Linked DNA regions of Homo sapiens: all the other regions are linked to region 5. Evidence: promoter capture Hi-C in 16 types of primary human blood cells and fetal thymus (Javierre and others, 2016). All regions are on one chromosome and are shown on one strand. Each heading gives the region's core, a stretch centred on a gene start or on the middle of the fragment in contact. The rest is flanking DNA. Distances are from core to core; before and after follow the strand shown.

Region 1 (2,911 bases), core at 247-2,746, 580 kb before region 5:
AGCACAGACCTGGCCTGGGGTAGATGTTTAGAAATTATGTTTTTGCTGATTTCAATTCATATGCATGAGCATTTTACATAATAAGCTGTTTTTCATATTGATGCAAAAGTTATTCTAAGTTTATTGAGAATGTTTTAATTAAAAGACTAAAACACTTATAGAAATTTATAATGTTTGTGTGGTCAAGTGCACTATTTTTTTCTTTTTTACATTTCTTCCAACACTTTCAAGTTCAGAAACTACCCCCGATCCCTTTTTACTTCCTCTCACTTACAACTACTACAAAGGCATATATTTTTTCATCTTGGTATTTTAAATTTGATTTGTTATGTTCTTTTTACTCCATATTGGATTTGGTACGATGTTAACTATAAAATGAGGATCTATTCTGATTTATTTCCTAAACATGTATTCAATTGTTTCAGTATCATTTACTAAATAATGATTTAACTCGTAGATTTTGATGCCTACTTTATGACAGATTATATTCTCACAACATCTCTCCTCATGAAAACCAGAGGAGTAGGGAAAAAGCACCCCACCCACACCCTTCTACACACACTGCAACCAAATCTATCAATTTAATAATTGACAGTTGTATAAAATTTAGTCTTTTCACCTGGTCAACTATTCTTCATTTTCTCAAATCTTCCTTTAGCGCATTCAGTAGATTTTCTGTAGTTTTGAACCAAGCTTGGGTATTACCTGGACTGTGAACAACCTAACCGGGAGAAACATCCAACATCCTGCAGAAACCCCATGACCAGCCACTGCGTGCCACTTCGCCACTTTGACAGTAGCACCAGAATTTAAGAACTCCTTCAAACTACAGAAAATCAACTGAATGAACGAAAAGAAGTCCTCACAATGCTGAGTCAGATTATTATAGTTATAGTAATTCTTTCCAACACTTGTAATTTGTAGCTCTTAGAACAGCATGCTGGAGTTTCCATGTGGCTGCCCCATGATTTTGTCCATGACAACTTCCTTATTTTTTTTTTAGCAATAAATATAGTACAAATTTGCACACCTTTTTTCATGTTCAGTTACCCTATCATTAGTACACTATGCAGCAGAGACTGTATTTTTACAGCTATTTCTGTTCCCACCATTCTTCAACTCCAGCCGAACAGGATTATTTGTTAATCCTTAAACATGCTGTGTACTTTCTCCCCTCCATTCCTTTTTCTATGCCATTCGCTGAAGCTCACAAACACTATGCCACATCCTCTCTCCTCATCTTCTGTCCAAATCCAAACCAACAATGTTTGACATACAGGAAATAACCTAATAGTTAGATAAAGATATTTAAATTCAATAGAATATTATACAATAACCAAAAATGAACAAGAGGGAAAAGAGGAGGAGAAATGTTTACTAAAATATGCATAAACAAATTCTATGAGTAACTTGATTATAAATAGGTATGTTGGTCAGGCTTTGATCAGCATGACATAAGGGCTACAGGAACTAGGGTAGCCATGTCAGGGCCTAGATTCTGAGACTTGTCCTTGCTAAAACTAACTCTCTGTCTCTCATATCTCCTCTTCCATTTCTCATTGTTACTTTTTTCTACTTTACATAAGTCTCTTCCATCACAGACAGACTTTCTCCTTAGAGATTAAGGGAGGATTATGGCAGATAATGGCTACCAGAATTCACAAATCTGTGAGCCAGTCCTAAATTTTAAAAATCCCCCAGGGAGACTCTGACAGGTCAGAATTGACACACAGCCCCACCTTAGACCAATCACCATACTCATAGGAATGGCTACCAGGAGTGGTCAGACCTAGAACAAGAGCCCTTTCCTGTCATCAGAGATGAGGGTACCATGATTGACAGGCTCATCAGAATCACCTGTTGGAGTGGAGAAGCAGTAGTTTCCCAAAGGAAATGTGTGTGTATTGGAGTGGAAAGAGGGGAGCAGAAGATTAGAGCAGAAGCAGCCAAGGTGCTGAGCAGACAAGAAAAACAACAGTTGCATTCTACAAATTGGCATGCATGGCCATCTGTGAATTACCCCTGCCACTGCTACAGCCTCCTTTTTCATCACTCTGTACCTCTCATCCTGTGTTAGGGATATTCTGAACTAATTAGAGTTCTGTAACTTCTGGGCTCCACCTTTGCACATGTTGTTCCTTCTTTCTCTAAGCCTTCCTAGTCTTTCTGCCTCTACCTCGCTAATTCCAACTCATACTTCAGCTCATATTGCAGCTATCACCTGCTCTAAGAAGCCTATGAGGATTCTATACTTGCCCCCACTCAGAGTTTTAGAATCCCACACGTGCTTATAGTGCTTGAAGCTTACCTCTAGCACAGCTCATACCATGTCATATTGTGATACACTCCAGCTAGTTTAAGCAGAACAGGACTATTACAAGATCCAAGTTAGCTTACAGAATTTCTGGGAAGCTGGGGAGCCAAGCTTGGGTATTACTCGGACTGTGAGCAGTCAGGAGAAACATCCACAATGATGCAGAAACCCCATGGCCAGCCACTGCCTGCCACTTAGCCACTTCAATACTCCACCAGAATTTGAGAACTCCTGCAATCACTGTCCCTAGAGAACTGAGCACCTCTACTGCCCTTCCGGCCACCAGAAGAACCTGTGGCCACCAGCTCATAGTAGTTGCTTTCATCTTCCAAATCTCTGCTTGGCAGAAGCTCGGTCATGTGAAGAATCTAGATGCAAGGGAAACTGAGAAATGTAGTCTTTTTCATGACAAACAGAAGGTTGAGTCATTTTGAATGAGCCAATTTCCCAGTCTTCCACCAAACCTCCACAACAACAAATTTGTTGTTAAGGGCAAACCAATTTATGGTTGTCCTACTGTCTTGGTAAGTAGTTTCATTGTCTGTATAAGATCTTGTTTCCTAGAAATACTTTTAATTTAATATCCATTTTTATCTA
Region 2 (3,072 bases), core at 476-2,975, 520 kb before region 5:
TGGCCTGTTAAAACAGTAATAATAGTAACAAGCAAGTGTTGGAAAGGTGTTCAAATCCATCAGCTCCAAACTGAAACAACCTCCTTGTTGTAATCAGAAGGAAAGAGAATTAGAGGGTCTCACTGTGTAATTCAAGGGCACTTCCTGCCCTGTCATTGTACATCCCAGAGCACTAGCCGCAGTGACCCAGTTTATGAAAGCACTGACAGTGTTTCAAAGCCTGGCATAGGATGCGTGAGACATGTTTGTTTTAGTAAATAGGTGGCATTCCCAGAGGCTACAAGACATTATTCTTTAAAGAGTCTGTGTTTCAGATGTTTGTTTATCAGGGTTTTTTTTTGTTTTTTGCAACATAGAGCACACTTTCTCCAGAAACAATGATATAAATAGGACCACAGAAGCAAGAATGCAGATGGATTACTTCACATTTGCAATGAAAAAGAGTAGCAAAGAAGGCTGTTGCAAATGTGTGGTGAGGCATTTCAAACTCACAGGCTTCCTCTGCCCTAGTGGCTGCTGGTTCTAAGCTTCTGGCAGGCAGTCCTTTCGGGAGAATGGACAGAGGGCCAGGGACAGTCTTTGGCAGACCACAGGGCTTCTGAAGTCCCTAGGAGGGAAAGTGTCAGCCCTCCAACCACTCCCTGGACTTAGCAGTTGTCACAGGAATGGCTCTTATTTGAAGCTGGGAGGCTTAGTGGTTATGGCCAGAGCAAGGAAGGTGAGCGCATACCGTGAGGAGCATCCCTCCTGCCAACCTAGAGCTTCAGGGAGTCATGGTACAATCCTACTGTCCTTCCTGACGAGAGCTAGCACAGCGAGGCTGAGTGTGGGGAGGGAGCACATCTGGAAATATCTCCAATTTATTCAGGGCAGGGGTCCCTCTCACCTCCCTGCACCTTCTTCTCAGTACTGCCTCTGCCTGGAAGCCGGCTGGAGGCATCTCCTTTACCTAGTATTTCACTCTTTCTCCAGAAGCTCAGCAAGTAGAGCTGACAGTACCCCAGGGGACTCCTACAATTTCCTCAGTCTCCAGGGAGATGCCTCCTGAATGAAACGATCTAAGAAAAGAAACATACACAAATACACACTCCTTCCTGTTCTCTCTCAAGCACCAGAATATTTTCTGCACTGGGCTCCCACACTCAACAGCCTCATTATTCTCTCTGAGATTTTCCTCTCCTTCCTCATTCCCCTGCCTCTGCTACCACTCCCACCTTCCACGCAAACACATGCGTGCCTGCACTTACACACACACTCATGCGGTTTCCGCACAGCTATCTCTGAGGGTAGGGGCAGCCACTAAACAGAGAGGAGGAACTAGATCATCTATCTTGAAAATTTGCCTCAAGCTCAGTAGGTGAACACTAAGAAAGCTGTTCTCGGAGGTACTGGAGGGCACATAACTCTTTTCCCATTCCCCTGTTGAGTGTGGGAGCCCAGAGCAGAAAATAGTTTCCTCCCCTCAACCCATCCCCCTCCATCAGTGAGCCTATAACTCATTTCAAGCCTGCTGTTGAAACCTAACTTTCCTCAGCCAGAACAGCCACAAGAAGTTATGGTTTATTTTCCCCCTCCTCCCTTGCTCTGCTCTGCCATCCCCCCAGTATAGAAGACTATGTCTGGCTTTTCTATTTTTGCTGTTGATGAGATAGATACAGTGCTAAGGGTAAGACAGTGTGTTCAAAATAGTGAGGATACATAGGATGAATTTGTTTTAAACAATATTTTAGTTATATTTCCAAATAATATGCTGAATATTTTTTTCTTCAACCTCCAGACCGCCTTTCAGGTGAAGCATCTCTAAAAATAATGCAATGGGTCCAATTGTTGATCTGAAAAAAGTACAATAAAAACACTACAAGAGCATCCAGAAGTCTGGAAACACAGGTGAAATTGTGCACTTCTTGTTTCAGATTTACAGCTAAATCCACTGCCTTAAATGTAGAGATTCATCACCTGAAACATGGTTGAAAACAAAAATATATTGAGTATTTTTTAAATGTGAATACCATAATTTTAAAATGCCATTTTCTCCTATGCTTTGTCCTGTAATTTAAAAAATTTAACAAGTGGACACTATGATTGGTGTACATTCCTGCCTACAATCTTCCAAGTTAATTGGATTAATGTAAGAGCTACTTATCTACACATAAACCATCCTATGAAAAAGGCTGACCATTTCAAATTAGGAGTGAGCTTCTAATATTTATCAGAAAATACCAAAACTGAGCTTGATTTGGAGCTTTGCATTATAGTGAAATCCTGAAGCCTCCAATAAGAGTAGGAAAGGGTCACAGTATCCTATTTCTCTTTTACTCTGAAAATAAAATTCTAATTACATAAATATTCTGTCTGTATTACACAATAAATCTAAATAACTGAAAGAAAACTTTTGCCTACAATCTTGTCACCTCAGCAAATCCAACTTTTTGTTTGGCCCTGATCTTTTCTAGCCATTGTGGATAATCACAGTGGGTGCCTTCTGCCATTTTCAATTAATACAATTTCAGAAGCATGTTCCATGTTGCTGTGTAGTCCTTGTAATCTACATTTTAATAGCTACATCATCTTTTACATTATTTTCCTGTTGTCCAACATACATTTCATAATCTTTTCTATAAGAAATAATGCAGCGAATCTTTGTCTATTTGGCTTTTTTTCCCTTACGAATTACTTGTTCAGAATCTATTCTAAGAGGTAGGATCAAAGGTCAAAACCCTGGATATGAGGAGGTTTTTATTTCTTCTAGTGACTAAGGAACTCTGAAGGTTCCACCCACAGCCTCCCACCTTTTACATTTGAGATAGACATTTCTCCATCAGAAATGTATCCAGCCACTGCAGCAGCCCCACTGGAATGCTGGGACAAGCTCATGGTTCATTTTCGGGAAAGTAGAGGCTTAAACAGTATGATTTAACCCATACAAGCTTGTTATATGTTACACATAGTTCCTACAAGAAGTATCAACAACACTTTAAGATTATAATAATTTCACTGAAAAAACAACTCATAATCAAGTGGTGACATTGAAAGAGTTGTGTGCCCCTTTAATAAACACAAAATAGTCCTCAT
Region 3 (3,156 bases), core at 259-2,758, 530 kb before region 5:
TTACTTATGGCTGGTAAGTGGCAATGCCAGGATTTAAACTTAGTTCTGTTTGTCTCCTGAACCAAAGTCTTTAACCACTACACTGTACTGCTGAATATTTTATTTAGTAGATTCACTTTTGCAAATGATTCTAATCACTCATTACTTTTTGAATTCTAAGTTTTACCCTCATCATGTGTGCTCTCTACCTCCTAAGGATATCTAGTACAGTTGTTTTCAAACTTGGTTAGGTATCAGAATCACCTACTTGAATATGCTTCATTCACTTTGTAGATATTTCTGATATATACCAAATTTTGAGAACCATTGAGTCTGTTAGAATAAGGTTCAGCTATAATGAACAGAAATAGTGCTATAAACTAGTTTCTTTTTCTCCCCCATTAAGAAGCCCAGAATAGTCATTCTAGAGCTGGTATCGAGCTTGGTGTGGGGAACAAGACTCCTTTTACTTTCTTTGTTTTGTGTGGCTTCCATTCTTCTAAAGTCATCTCAGTGACCAATTGCCTGTTGGAGCTTCATCTACATCTGCATTCTAGCTAGCAAGAAGGTGGAAGGGTGGAAGAATACATACCTTCTCTTTAATGATTGTCAGGAATATGCACCACTTCCACTTAATCCCATGGGTCAGAATTGAAACATACAGCCATGCCCTCCTGCAAGGAAGGCTGGGAAAAGTGGTCTTTATTCTGTGTGGCTACGTAGGCAGCTAAAAATTAGACATTCTCTTATGATGGAGGAATTAGGAGGAATAAACCTTCAAGAATAATTAATCTCTGTCACACTCAGCAGGGAGGAAAATTTACCTAATCCTTATATCTACATTTGACCATGAGACCTAAGAGAAATTCTTTCTATAAGAGGTTTTTAGATCTCATAATGAAGGTGGCTAAGGCAGTGGCTCTCAAACTCTGCTGCACATTAGAATCAACTGGGATCTTACAAACTAATGATGCCTGACTTCCACACCCAATCATTCTGACTTAGTTGGTATGAAATAGAACCTAGACATTAGGGTATTTAAAAGCCCCCCATAATGATTCTGATTTGCAGGAAAAGTTTGGACTAAAGGGGGGGAAACACTCCTAAATCTTTTCCTTAACTCTATCACAGGATCTTCAACCTAAGATACAAGTAGTGTGGATAAGATCCACTGAGTGTTGTTTTGCTCCATTGATGGGCTCCTATTTTTTCCTGTGCCATTGACATCTCAGCAGTTGAACTAGTGAATGTTACTGGTAATAAAGTTACATGTGACCAGGGAAGATTCATTATCGGTATCGCAAAAGACAAAGACAACTCAGACGATATGTCCTACTCACAAAAGCCAGTGACATTTTCATGTACAAAGAACACATTTTAGTTGTAGCTATATTTATACACATGTTATTTGTATGTGGCATGAAAATAGCTATTTTGGTTTTCTGTGTGTGCACGCATGTAGCAGGACCCAGACACAGTAGTGAATCATCCTTAAGTACAGCATTTACATTTTAAACACAGGAACCTATTCAAATCAAATGTGGAAGGCCCTCTCTATTTGGCAGTATATTTGTCATCCGGAAGCTCAAAATAGCCTTTTAGAGATCTAAGCAGTTTGAGCTAGTGGCATCTCAACCTATTACTAGCTGTCAGATATTTTATCCATTCAAGCAGATAGGTGGGCAAAGGTTATGTTTTCTTTGAATTGCTAATGCAGAGGTCTGCCTTTTAAGTTGAGATGTGAAATGAGAAGAGGAGTAAAAGAGGAAATTCTCAAAGACGAAAGCTAGATAGGTCATTTCATTCACCTCTTCACCTTCAGAAAGAATGACATTAAAACATTCTAAACAGGTGAGAATCTATACTATTTTTATAGCTCTTCAATGACAGGATTGCACAACCACATTCCTACCATACCACATTTCATTGCAACAATTTGCAGCTAGGAAATTTCTTTTTACATCTAACCCAAGGATTCTGACCAGGTTGATCCCATTTCCTCCTCGCTGTTCTTCAGAGGGACAACACCATTCTTTTATAAAATTATCTTGGTACTTACATAATTACATTAATCTTCAGGTTTCTCTTTTACAATCCAAATACTAATAACATCCCTTCACACCTTCCTTTTAAATAGTTTTCAAATATAATCAGCTTTGCAGCAATCTTCTTTTAACCTAGGGGTTCCCAGACTTGTTTGCACATTAGAATCATCTGAGGAGCTTCAAAAACTACTGATGCCTGTGTCCCACCCCCAGAGATTCTGATTTAAGTGTCTGGAGTATGTACTAAAGTGGAGATTTTTTAAAAAGATTCTCAAGTGCTTCAAAAGTGCATCAAGTTCAGAAACCACTATCTGAACCTGCTGCAGCCTATTACCCACTTCTCCTTCTGTTTGCTAATAGAACCTTGATAATAGTCCCAGATAAGAAATCATGACTGGCCTAAAACTGTGGTTTCCAGTTCTGCTACCATTAGAATCACCTGGAGAGCTTTGACTATACGGAAGCCTGGACTCCACCAACAAATTAAATCAGAACATCTGGGGGTGGGACCAGGAAACGGTATCTTTAAAAATGCTCTCCAAATGTTTTTAATGCACCACCAGGGTTGAGAGCCATTGGTGGAGGTCAGTGACTCTCAAAGTGTTTTTTAAAGTCCGGAAGCATCCGCATCAACTGAGATATTTAAATAATACAAATTCTTAGGTCCAAACCCAGGCCTACTGAATCAGCATCTCTGGGGGGTGGAGCCCAGCAATCAGTGTTTTAACAAGCCCTCCAGGGGATTTCAATGCTTGCTAGAGTTTGAGTAGCACTAGTCTAAGTCCATTATGATAAGCCTGTTCCCTGATTTCCCAGCCTTCCTTCAACAACAGGTGGCTGTGTGACCCAGTTCAAGCCAATGCCACCCAGCAGAGTTCTACTGAGAAAACGTGGTTTCTGGGAAAATTTTTGCTTTCTTGGTACAAGGGAACACACATCATGCACTTCTGCTTCTTCTTTCCTTACAGTCTTGGGGGTAGGTAGTCCCTGAAGCCTCAGCTGCCATTTTGGGATCATGAGCAAAACACACTTGTGGAAAGTCCAAGAAAATCACAGCGATGCTGCCCAATACTAGCAGTAACCTACCCTCAGACTTCTAGTTATAAGAAAAACCCTACTTGTTTAAGCCATT
Region 4 (3,163 bases), core at 89-2,588, 650 kb before region 5:
CCCAGACTCTTTTAAACAACCAGCTCTCATGTGAACTGAGTGAGTGAGAACTCTTATCACCAAGGAGATGATGCCAAACCATTCATGAGGGATCCACTTGATGATCCAATCACTTCCCACCTGGACCCACCTCCAACATTGTGAATCACATTTCTACATGAGATTTGGAGAGGACAAACATCCAAACCATATCACTTGGTATTTAATTTTTTGTGGCTATTGTAAATGATATTGCTTTCATGATTTATTTTTCAGCTAGTTTGTTGTTATCGTATAGAAATGGTACTGATTCTCGTATGTTGATTTTGTGTCCTGCAACCTTAATGAATTTATTGATCAGTTCTAAAAGGGCTTCTCTTTTTAACTCATTTATTTTTTCAAGGTGAAGGCTGGGCTAAAGATGACCAAACATTTTTCACCATGGTCTCCTGCATAGGTGGTCTAGTGCTTCACTTTGGAACTCAGGGGTACTTAAAAACAACAGTTGCTGTTCAGAGCCTTTGGACTTGAGCTAAAAGTGAGACTAAAAGTGTCCCATTTCAATAACCTATTTCACATTTTAGAATAAGGTTCTGAAATCATATTTGGGCAATATCAAAGGCTCACTTCAAACTGTCTAGAGTCAGGGAAAACCAGTGTGTGGCAGAGAGGAGAGGTTGAGGACCATGTGCTCTTTAGGGAGGGTTCTCTCAGGGTAGCTACAGGGTGGAGGAAAATGCATTGCCTTCAGAGACATAAAGCTCCATTCTTGGGTCGGAGTTTTGAAGAAGGTTCAATTTCTCCAGATAGAAGAGGTTTTATTGACTTGGCTCAGTGCATGAATTCCTTTCTAGTCTCTTGAATCTGTTCTGTTCTGATTCAGAATCAGTTTGGCCAGTGCCCTGATCCAGAAAGCATATTCCCTATAAACTGCCCTGTGAAGACCACTCTTTCTTTAAGCTTTGACAGATCAGATGCAGACACCAGCCCTTTTTTTGCCTCTCTTTTCAAAGAGTCATCAGATTTTAGTTTTTCTTCGAAAAAAAACAAAAAGAAAGCTCATATTTCCCAAGTCATTTATACTCATCATGAACTATAGCCATCTGTGTATTAAATGCAAAGGGATGGATGGATATAACCACACAAGGCATCACATGTTCACAAACACACAATGAGGTGAATTAAGTAAATGCTCTGTTAGTTTTCTCTCCCCAAACCATCTTCTCCATCAATGCATTATGCAAAGAACCTCTCACGATGACAGATCACAGAACTTCAAAGCTAGATGGGGTCTATAGACTATCTGCTGAGACCTGGCCCAAGTGATTTTATCTTTCTGAGTCTCAGGTTCTTCCTCAACAAAATGGGATTCAAATATTCCCACCTAAACAGTTACTGTCAAGATTAAGTATATGCTTAATTAATATCAATCTGCTCATTTGCATTGAAGAAACTGAGATCTCAGCAAGGACAAGAGATGTCAAAGGTTAGTGACTGTGATGGGACCAAAAAAAAACAATGTCTCCTGCATCCTAATACATGCTCTGTAAGGCAAATGGAACCAGGCTGTCCTCAGACATTCAGCAAACCTTTAAGATATGTGACTCATGATCCATACTAAGGATGACATCATTTCATTTATGATTATAAGTTTCCAGTCCTCTGAAGAATGATAGTCCTCTATCTCCAGGCATCAAGCTGAGAGGATTCTCTGCAGCTCAGAATATGAAGGACTGATCAAGATTCAAGATGATTCCTCTAAGCTTCAAAGCAGTACAGTTATAAACCACCACCACCACAAGCTTCTGAAGTTAAATAAATAAACAACTTAAGGTAGATAAATCACAAACAGCTGACCTGAAGTAAAAATTGTGCCTAGGTCTAGGCCTATTTTTTATTAGTGTTAACAGCAACTCCTCTGATGAAACCAAATTCTTGCATTATACCAGTGTTGTAGCCTCCATCTTGATCCTTGCCTCTTAAAAAAAAAAATCTGATATCAGCTGGGTTGAACCATAGGATACTGTCAATATTAAACTATTATGGGGCTCTAAAAATAGCAATTTTATTTGGTTAAATATATAATATGTTAGTGTCTAAAGTGGTGCCTTTGCTTGTTAGATAATCATTCTTCTTTTTTACATAAAAGTATAACATATTTACTGGAAATGTGAAAAATTAAGAACAAAATTGCATGTAATTCCACTAAATAATACAATTATTTTGCATGTTTTTTCTCAGTATTTTGCAAGCATATTTAAAATATTTATAATTGTTAATAATATTCAAGCTTTTAATTATGCCTAAAAACTTCACTCCTAACCTGTTTCCTCATCTAGAATAAGAAGGAACTGCACTGGATTACCTCTAAGGCTTCTTTTGCTTTTATCTTTTTTATCTTTTGCTTTTATCTCTGTGGCCAGATTAATTTGAGTACATTTTATCTGATCAAAACATTAATTTCTAATAAGCATATTTTTATCTTTACCCCTATGGCTTATTGTTCATGCAGTACAACTATTTGCTTACAACTTTCAAAGTTCTAGGGAACATTTTGCAGGAAAAAAAGTTTAATGTGAGCTACCACTTTTGGCATGTGATCCAATTTAGAAAATTAAAATATTGATCAACCAAAATTGTTTTCACTCAGAACAAATAGTTGTATTAATTTCTTTGACATAAAATGCATATTTTTTAAAACATTGATGGCCTACATTACTGAAACAACTGTCCCCAAAATGTTAGAATCTGGGCCTATTTGAGAAGAAACCTGGGCCATTTTCAGTTTGTGTTACTGTTTCAAATTCACAAGTTATTCTACACCCATTATCCCACGTCAAGCTTTGAAAGAATTTCACAACATCCATATCATTTCTCACTTTACAGAAGGAAATTGAGTACTCAGGGAAACAAAGTGGACCTGCAGCATTTATAGGGAGCCACCTGTGTGCTAGGGATACAGGGAGTATGTACGAGAGCTGCCTGTGGCGGGTGAGCGCTGGGGAGGCATCATTAGGTTAAAGAATAATGATTATTTCAACCTGGAAAGGAGCGCAGAGGGAGGACTTAACAAAGTCTTTCAATAGTTTAGTCAGTTTTTCTAAAAGTTTGTGATTGAGAGCTAATGAAACTAATACAAAGGCCCTGGCTCACTGAAGGAGGCTAGGACCTGGACCTCAGCATT
Region 5 (2,891 bases), core at 221-2,720:
CCGGTTAATTATGTTTCTTTTTTCAAATTATTTTAAGTATCAGTGTTCCTATATGAACTTTAACACCTAAATTAAAGTCCGTTTTCTTTTGCATCCGTATTCACTTGAAAGGAAAGATGTTTTGATTTGATGACTGGTGCACGGTACAGCAGTAGCAAGAGATACTATGTTCAATAATGCCAATCTTACCTTTTTCCTCTTAACTGGCGGAGGTGGTGGAATACATTAATCACATCTCTTATTCTTCTAGGTGCTTCTTCGATTTTTGATGCAAGATTAATACAAGCCATAGCAACAATCTGAAAGAACCCATGAGCCACAAAAGCCATTGTTAGATTAAACTCACTTTGAAGAATAAAATTTAGAACACAATTGGGACAACCTTTAGTAAAATTAGAGAAGACATCTCTATGCCGTAAGTCTACCAGCTATGCTAGTACTATACTTTTTGTTGTTTAACTCATCTTAATTTTGGTTCCAGAGTCAAACTCAATCTTACAGGAGTTCTGCATTTGGTTGAAAACTGTACTTTTCGTTAAGAGGGCACTTAGGCTCGTGATCGATTTTGAACCACATTCTAAAGGTTTCCACTTCCTGGCGAGTGAGAAGTAGGTACAAAGGCCTAAACTAAACCACTCCCTTTCTGGAAAAGCTGGCTGCTGACACTACCCCTACTCTGCCCATTTCCGGATGAAGAAATCCCTTTTACCCGCCTCCGCTGTGCTTACCTCGAAACTGTGTTTGACGAAAGATTTGGAGTAGAAAAAACGATGAAACAACACCTGCCCCGTTGCCATCGCCACCTGCAGACAAGAGAGGAGAACGGAAGCGCAGGGGTCAGGCGGGCCCGCTCCAGGCGCCGCCGCCATTTTGTGCCGCCGATCGCTTCCCTTTCCCCTCCCGCCGCCGCCGCCGCTGCGAACAGCCCGCTGCCAAGTCCTCCCTCCGCCTCCGCAGCCCCCCGCCCCGGCACGCCCCGGCCGCGGCTGGGCCCCGAACGGGAAAGCCTGAAGGAACCGTCCCCACCCTCCCGGGGCACGGTGATACTGAGATGCGGCGTAGGGGACGGAGGAGAGGAGAGGAGCGCCCGGCCGGCCCGGGGCCGGAGCACTGACCTGCGGCAGCCGGAGGAGAATGCCGGCGGCCTGGATGAGCTCGCAGCCCAGGATGCGTAAGTCCGTCTCACTGGGCAGGTCGAGCCCATCCTGCATGGATGGGGTGGGCGAGAGCCTCTCCTCCGGAATCAGAGAGTGGTCGATGGTAAGTGAAACTTCCGAGTACAGGCGATCGCCGATCAGGATCCCTCCCGTCGTGGTCGTCGTCGTGGTCGTCGTCCCGGAGCTGGAGCCGCCCGCGCTTGGGGCGGCCGATGAGGCGGCTGCGGCAGCAGTAGCTGTCGAATGAGGCCCGGACGCCATAGTCTTAGCGAGCCGCACGCAAGCCCAACGCAGCCGGAACCCGAAACAAGACTAACCAGCGTTCTCGGCGCGACGGATATTCCCGTGACCGCCGGGTTCTGGGCCGCTTCACGCCGCGTGCGCTTCCGCCCTGACGTCACCACGCCGGGCAGCCGCGCGCCAACTAGTCCCTCCAGGCCGCGCCTCCGCCCTCGGCATCTGGGCCTGCGAGGGGAGTGTTGGGTGCTGCGACAGACCTTGGGATCCTCAGAGGCTGAGGAGGCCTTCTCTAGCCAAGGCCGGTCGAAACCACCTTGTTTGTGATAGCCACACGAATAACGGAGCTTTACAAGATCCCTTATACCCAAAATAGAGGTGGCAGCATTGGCTAGCATCTCTGCGCCCCTTCGCCCTGCATTCCGGCCTCTTCCTTTAGCCTCGGCGCGGCTTGCGTTCCGCGTGTACCAAGGGAAGTGGCGGCCGACCTGAGCGCGCTTTGGCGGGTGGAAGTGGTGACTTTGTTGTCCTGTGTGGACGAATGTGTAATATAAAGTGACCCTCAAGGAATCTGGAGAGGGCTGCTTTACAGTATTTGAAGAACACAGGGCTGTGGACCCTATCGGTTCCCAAATGAAAGCTCCCCGGGGAGCGTGTTTTTGCCAGTATGGGGAAGTAGGGCGGAGGCATAGGAATGACCGCGAGAGTGGCTGCTTTCATAGCTCCGCTTGCGAAACTCCTGCCCGGCCTTTGACACCGCCACGGCTTTCAGTAATCTGGAAAATCCCTAGTTTCCAAAAATAGTCTTAGGGCGAGGACTTGACAGAGGTAATTTGATTATGCCTGGGAGTCTCTATTCATACATGGTTACCTACCGCGGGTAGGGTGAGGTCAACCTCGTGTTTTTTGTTTTTTTTCCTGTGATATTAGCTAGCAATTTCCAGCGTTTCCTGAACCTTGAAGTAAAAACAATGATACTGATCTAAACTACTAGAATCTAGGTTGGAAGGAAAGGAATGCATCACGTTTTACTCTTGACGCTCAGAAAGCGATACCCCAAAGACAGAGGCTTTAGAAGCTGCCTCATAATGCAGGTCCCCCAACCTTGACTTGTTGCTCCCACTTTTCCCAAGTGCAGGGAGGTACTCTCTGAAATTTCCTTTCCTGACTAGAGAAGCCTCTTTGTAGAAGAATCAATCGCATTCCTCCCCTCGCTGAAATCTCGTATCCTATTTCAAAAAGACTCAGAAATGCAGCCATTCCTGGAGGGACTTTTTCACAAGATTACTCAAAAGAAAATTATTTACTAATTTCTGTCCATTCATTGTTCCTAATAATCATTTGCTGCTCCTCAAAATAAATGTCTACATTTCTCATCTACCCTTTCCCCTATGAAAAAAAGATATAAAATCTTCTGTACTCCATTAAGCTACTGGGTAATCATCCTCCTGCTTTTACCCCGGTGTTATGTATCCCTTTTCTCCTGTTAATCGCCTG
Region 6 (3,113 bases), core at 542-3,041, 640 kb before region 5:
TTCTCATCGGCAAAATAACTCAAAAAAATCACAATAAAACATAATGTGGTTACCCTTTTCTTTGGAAATATTGTCTTAGAATAATGAAAAAATGCTCAAAAAACAAAAGCCAGCAGCCTATTGAAATCATGTGGGTGCAGTGTCCATGGCCCACTGCCTGTTGCAGAGCATTCTGCGGTCTCTGGGAAGATAAAGATCTGCGATGGCTATTATGTATTATGTCACAATTACACGCAAGAGAGAAAGTCCACATTACCACACAGTGTGATGATTTTTAATTGTTTTCCCTAAAACAGACTAACACTCTTACAAATACTCTTTTCCCCTGGGTGTTGCTGCTTAAGTGCTCGCTTTATGTAGAAGAGTCTATTGTTCCCTTTCTCATAGTAAGAGCAGAGCCTTCTGGAAACTAAGGCATTGAGAAGTTCTAAAAGATTTTTATCTTTATATTTAGGAAATTAGGTTCATTTTGTAGTCTATAGATCAGGGTCAGTTTCTTCTCATTGGCTTTAAAGAATAGTTTCCTGTTTTGAGTTTCTTTACTTTTTTAAGTTTCAATAGTTATACAATAGGTAATAACATTTGCAAAGTCTTTATCTACTTTAAAATTTTAAAAACCAACTCAGTACCTATCAGTTATGCCATGTCTGCTTCTAGGAAGAAGCTGCAGAAGCTAACAACAAAGCCCCATTATAAAAAGAATAAGAGATTAGCAGTGAATTGAAAGCACGGGGGAGAAAAATAGTTAAACAAAAATGTAAAATAGTGGTTTTCTTTGAGCAGAAAGCTTGGCACCCAGCTTTCTTAATAAAAAGGAGACATAATAGATCTTGGTAAGTTGTAAATGTACTTTTTTTTTTGCTACATTCTAAAGTTGGGCTATCCCAATAAAAAACGTTACTTCTTCTATTGGACAGGCTAGGATTTAAGTGCTTGTATGTCACGGTCAGGGTTATAACAACTTCTGTGCAGGCTGATCAATTTGAATGGTGAATATTAGTCAAAATCAATCTGTTTTGAACCAATAAACAAGGAGCAAGATCGTGAGGAACATTTCTTTGCATGAAATCATCCCTGTCAGTGTGAAACATAAGGGTCAAAAAATTCAGAAAATCATTATGAGGTTCACATATTTTATTGAATTACCATTCTTTGACATCAGATCTTTACCAGACATTAACATTTCAATGTTATGCTTTTCCCCAGTGCTACCAGTGGTTGAAAGAAAGAATTGTAAGTGAAGAAGGGAGAAAACAGCAAAACAAGCTAAAAGACCTTTCCCCAATTGCGGAGCGTCTGGGATGCACACTACCTCAGCTAGCTGTTGGTAAGAAAATTACTAAGCTATGGGGTGGTAGAGGGACTTCTGCTGAGATCATAGTTTTCTATTGCTGACCACACCCTTACCATGATAAAATGTCTATTGCAGGGACAGATGATCTCTGAAGCATAAACTCCTGCTAAATATAAAGTGAGTTATTTGAGGTTCCCCAGAATTTTCTACATGATAGCAAATTTTTCTTACTTCTTTCTCCTTGCTCTTATAACATAGTTTAAATGAGAACATGTCAGTGATAACATACACTATCACAGATGTCAGGGGTGAACTGTGTAGTGACATCCATTTCTTCTGGCTCAAATTTCTGTCTGTTGAAAACTAAACCAGGGTTGGTGAGAAGATGAGATACAGGGCTGTGACAGGCCCAAGGCTACTGCCACATGAAAAGCTGATCCTAGAGAAATAGCTTCACCCTGAAAGTTCTTGAAGGCCATAAACGTTGTTCTTCTAATGCTGTGGAGTCCATGAAAGGTCATGATTGCTGGTAACAATTGAAAACCACACGCGGCTGGGCACGGTGGCTCATGCCTGTAATCCCAGCACTTTGGGAGGCCAAGGTGGGCGGATCATGAGGTCAGGAGATCGAGACCATCCTGGCTAACACAGTGAAACCCCGTCTCTACTAAAAACACCAAAAATTAGCCGGGCGTGGTGGTGGGTGCCTGTAGTCCCAGCTACTTGGGAGGCTGAGGCAGGAGAATGGCGTGAACCCGAGTGGCGGAGCTTGCAGTAAGCCCAGATTGCGTCACTGCACTCCAGCCTGCGTGACAGAGCAAGACTCCATCTCAAAAAAAAAAAAAAAAAAAAAAAAAAAAAAGAAAACCCCAAACCACATCCACTGTTTGAGAGAAAGATAATATGAACCACATTCAATCATGGGTGTCTCAGTCAACGACGGACAACATATATGTAGGTGATCCCATAAGATTATAATGGAGCTGAAAAATTGCTATTGCCTAGTGATGTTGTGGTTATCCTAAGGTCCGAGTGCAATGAATTACTTGTGTGTTTGTGGTGATGCTGGTATAATAAACAAGCCTACTGCACTGCCAGTAATATAAAAGTCTAGCACACACAATCATGTACAGTACATAATACTTGATAATGATAATAAATGACCATGTTACTGGTTTATGTATTTACTATACTATACTTTTCATCTTTACTTTAGAGTGTTACTCCTTCTTACTAGGAAAAAAAAAAAGTTAACTGTAAAACAGCCTTATGCAGGCCCTTCAGGAGGTATTCCCCAAAGAGGAATTATTATCACAGGAGATGACAGCTCCATGTGTTTTACTGCCCCTGAAGACTTCCCAGAGGAACAAGATGTGGAGGTGGAACATAGTGATGGTCCTGACCCTGTGTAGGCCAAGGCTAATGAGTGTGTCTGTGTCTTAGTTTTTAACAAAAAAAAAAAAGTTTAAAAAGCTAAAAAAACACTTTTTAAAAATAGAAAAAAAGCTTATAACAATATAAAGAAAATACTTTTGTACAGCTGTACAATGTGTTTGTGTTTTAAGCTATGTTATTACAAATAAGTTCAAAGGTTTTTTTGTTTGTTTGTTTTTTGTTTTGAGACGCAGTCTCGCTCTGTCGCCCAGGCTGGAGTGCAGTGGCGCGATCTCGGCTCACTGCAACCTCCGTCTCCCAGGTTCAAGCGATTCTCCTGCCTCAGCCTCCTGAGTAGCTGGGATTACAGGTGTGCACCACCAAGCCTGGCTAATTTTTGTATTTTTAGTAGCGAAGGGGTTTCACCATGTTGGTCAGGCTGGTC

What was found. Contacts are between HindIII fragments. The CHiCAGO score rates a contact against its expected background, and 5 or more counts as called.
Region 1: a contact is called between a fragment that was not itself captured here and the fragment with the promoter of CCNL1 in region 5, in 3 of 17 cell types (M2 macrophages, M0 macrophages and M1 macrophages). The highest score is 10.0, in M2 macrophages.
Region 2: a fragment that was not itself captured here is called in contact with the fragment with the promoter of CCNL1 in region 5 in 2 of 17 cell types (M2 macrophages and fetal thymus); the score reaches 8.3 in M2 macrophages.
Region 3: a fragment that was not itself captured here is called in contact with the fragment with the promoter of CCNL1 in region 5 in 1 of 17 cell types (M2 macrophages); the score reaches 5.4 in M2 macrophages.
Region 4: a fragment that was not itself captured here is called in contact with the fragment with the promoter of CCNL1 in region 5 in 2 of 17 cell types (total CD8 T cells and non-activated CD4 T cells); the score reaches 7.8 in total CD8 T cells.
Region 6: a contact is called between a fragment that was not itself captured here and the fragment with the promoter of CCNL1 in region 5, in 7 of 17 cell types (total CD8 T cells, naive CD4 T cells, total CD4 T cells and 4 more). The highest score is 13.2, in total CD8 T cells.

The regions. Positions count from the first base shown.
Region 1 is chr3:156,580,316-156,583,226 of GRCh38, forward strand. No RefSeq gene overlaps it. Among named protein-coding and RNA genes, the nearest start is that of SSR3, 27 kb to the left of the region's middle. The HindIII fragment of the contact is 1,610 bases long and covers 692-2,301 here.
Region 2 is chr3:156,642,741-156,645,812 of GRCh38, forward strand. No RefSeq gene overlaps it. Among named protein-coding and RNA genes, the nearest start is that of TIPARP, 30 kb to the right of the region's middle. The HindIII fragment of the contact is 2,400 bases long and covers 526-2,925 here.
Region 3 is chr3:156,626,612-156,629,767 of GRCh38, forward strand. No RefSeq gene overlaps it. Among named protein-coding and RNA genes, the nearest start is that of TIPARP, 46 kb to the right of the region's middle. The HindIII fragment of the contact is 3,731 bases long and covers 1-3,156 here.
Region 4 is chr3:156,505,866-156,509,028 of GRCh38, forward strand. All of the region lies in intron 8 of KCNAB1 (potassium voltage-gated channel subfamily A regulatory beta subunit 1), which reads left to right. Among named protein-coding and RNA genes, the nearest start is that of SSR3, 48 kb to the right of the region's middle. The HindIII fragment of the contact is 803 bases long and covers 938-1,740 here.
Region 5 is chr3:157,158,677-157,161,567 of GRCh38, forward strand. CCNL1 (cyclin L1) reads right to left here and starts at 1,471. Exons shown (of 11, transcript NM_020307.4): 1 at 1,116-1,471; 2 at 729-803; 3 at 190-299. The coding sequence starts at 1,418. RefSeq lists enhancers at 683-752, 1,386-2,115, 2,203-2,252, 2,273-2,332 and a silencer at 893-1,102. The HindIII fragment of the contact is 11,903 bases long and covers 1-2,891 here.
Region 6 is chr3:156,522,621-156,525,733 of GRCh38, forward strand. KCNAB1 (potassium voltage-gated channel subfamily A regulatory beta subunit 1) reads left to right here. Exons shown (of 14, transcript NM_172160.3): 12 at 1,207-1,327. Among named protein-coding and RNA genes, the nearest start is that of SSR3, 31 kb to the right of the region's middle. The HindIII fragment of the contact is 2,013 bases long and covers 786-2,798 here.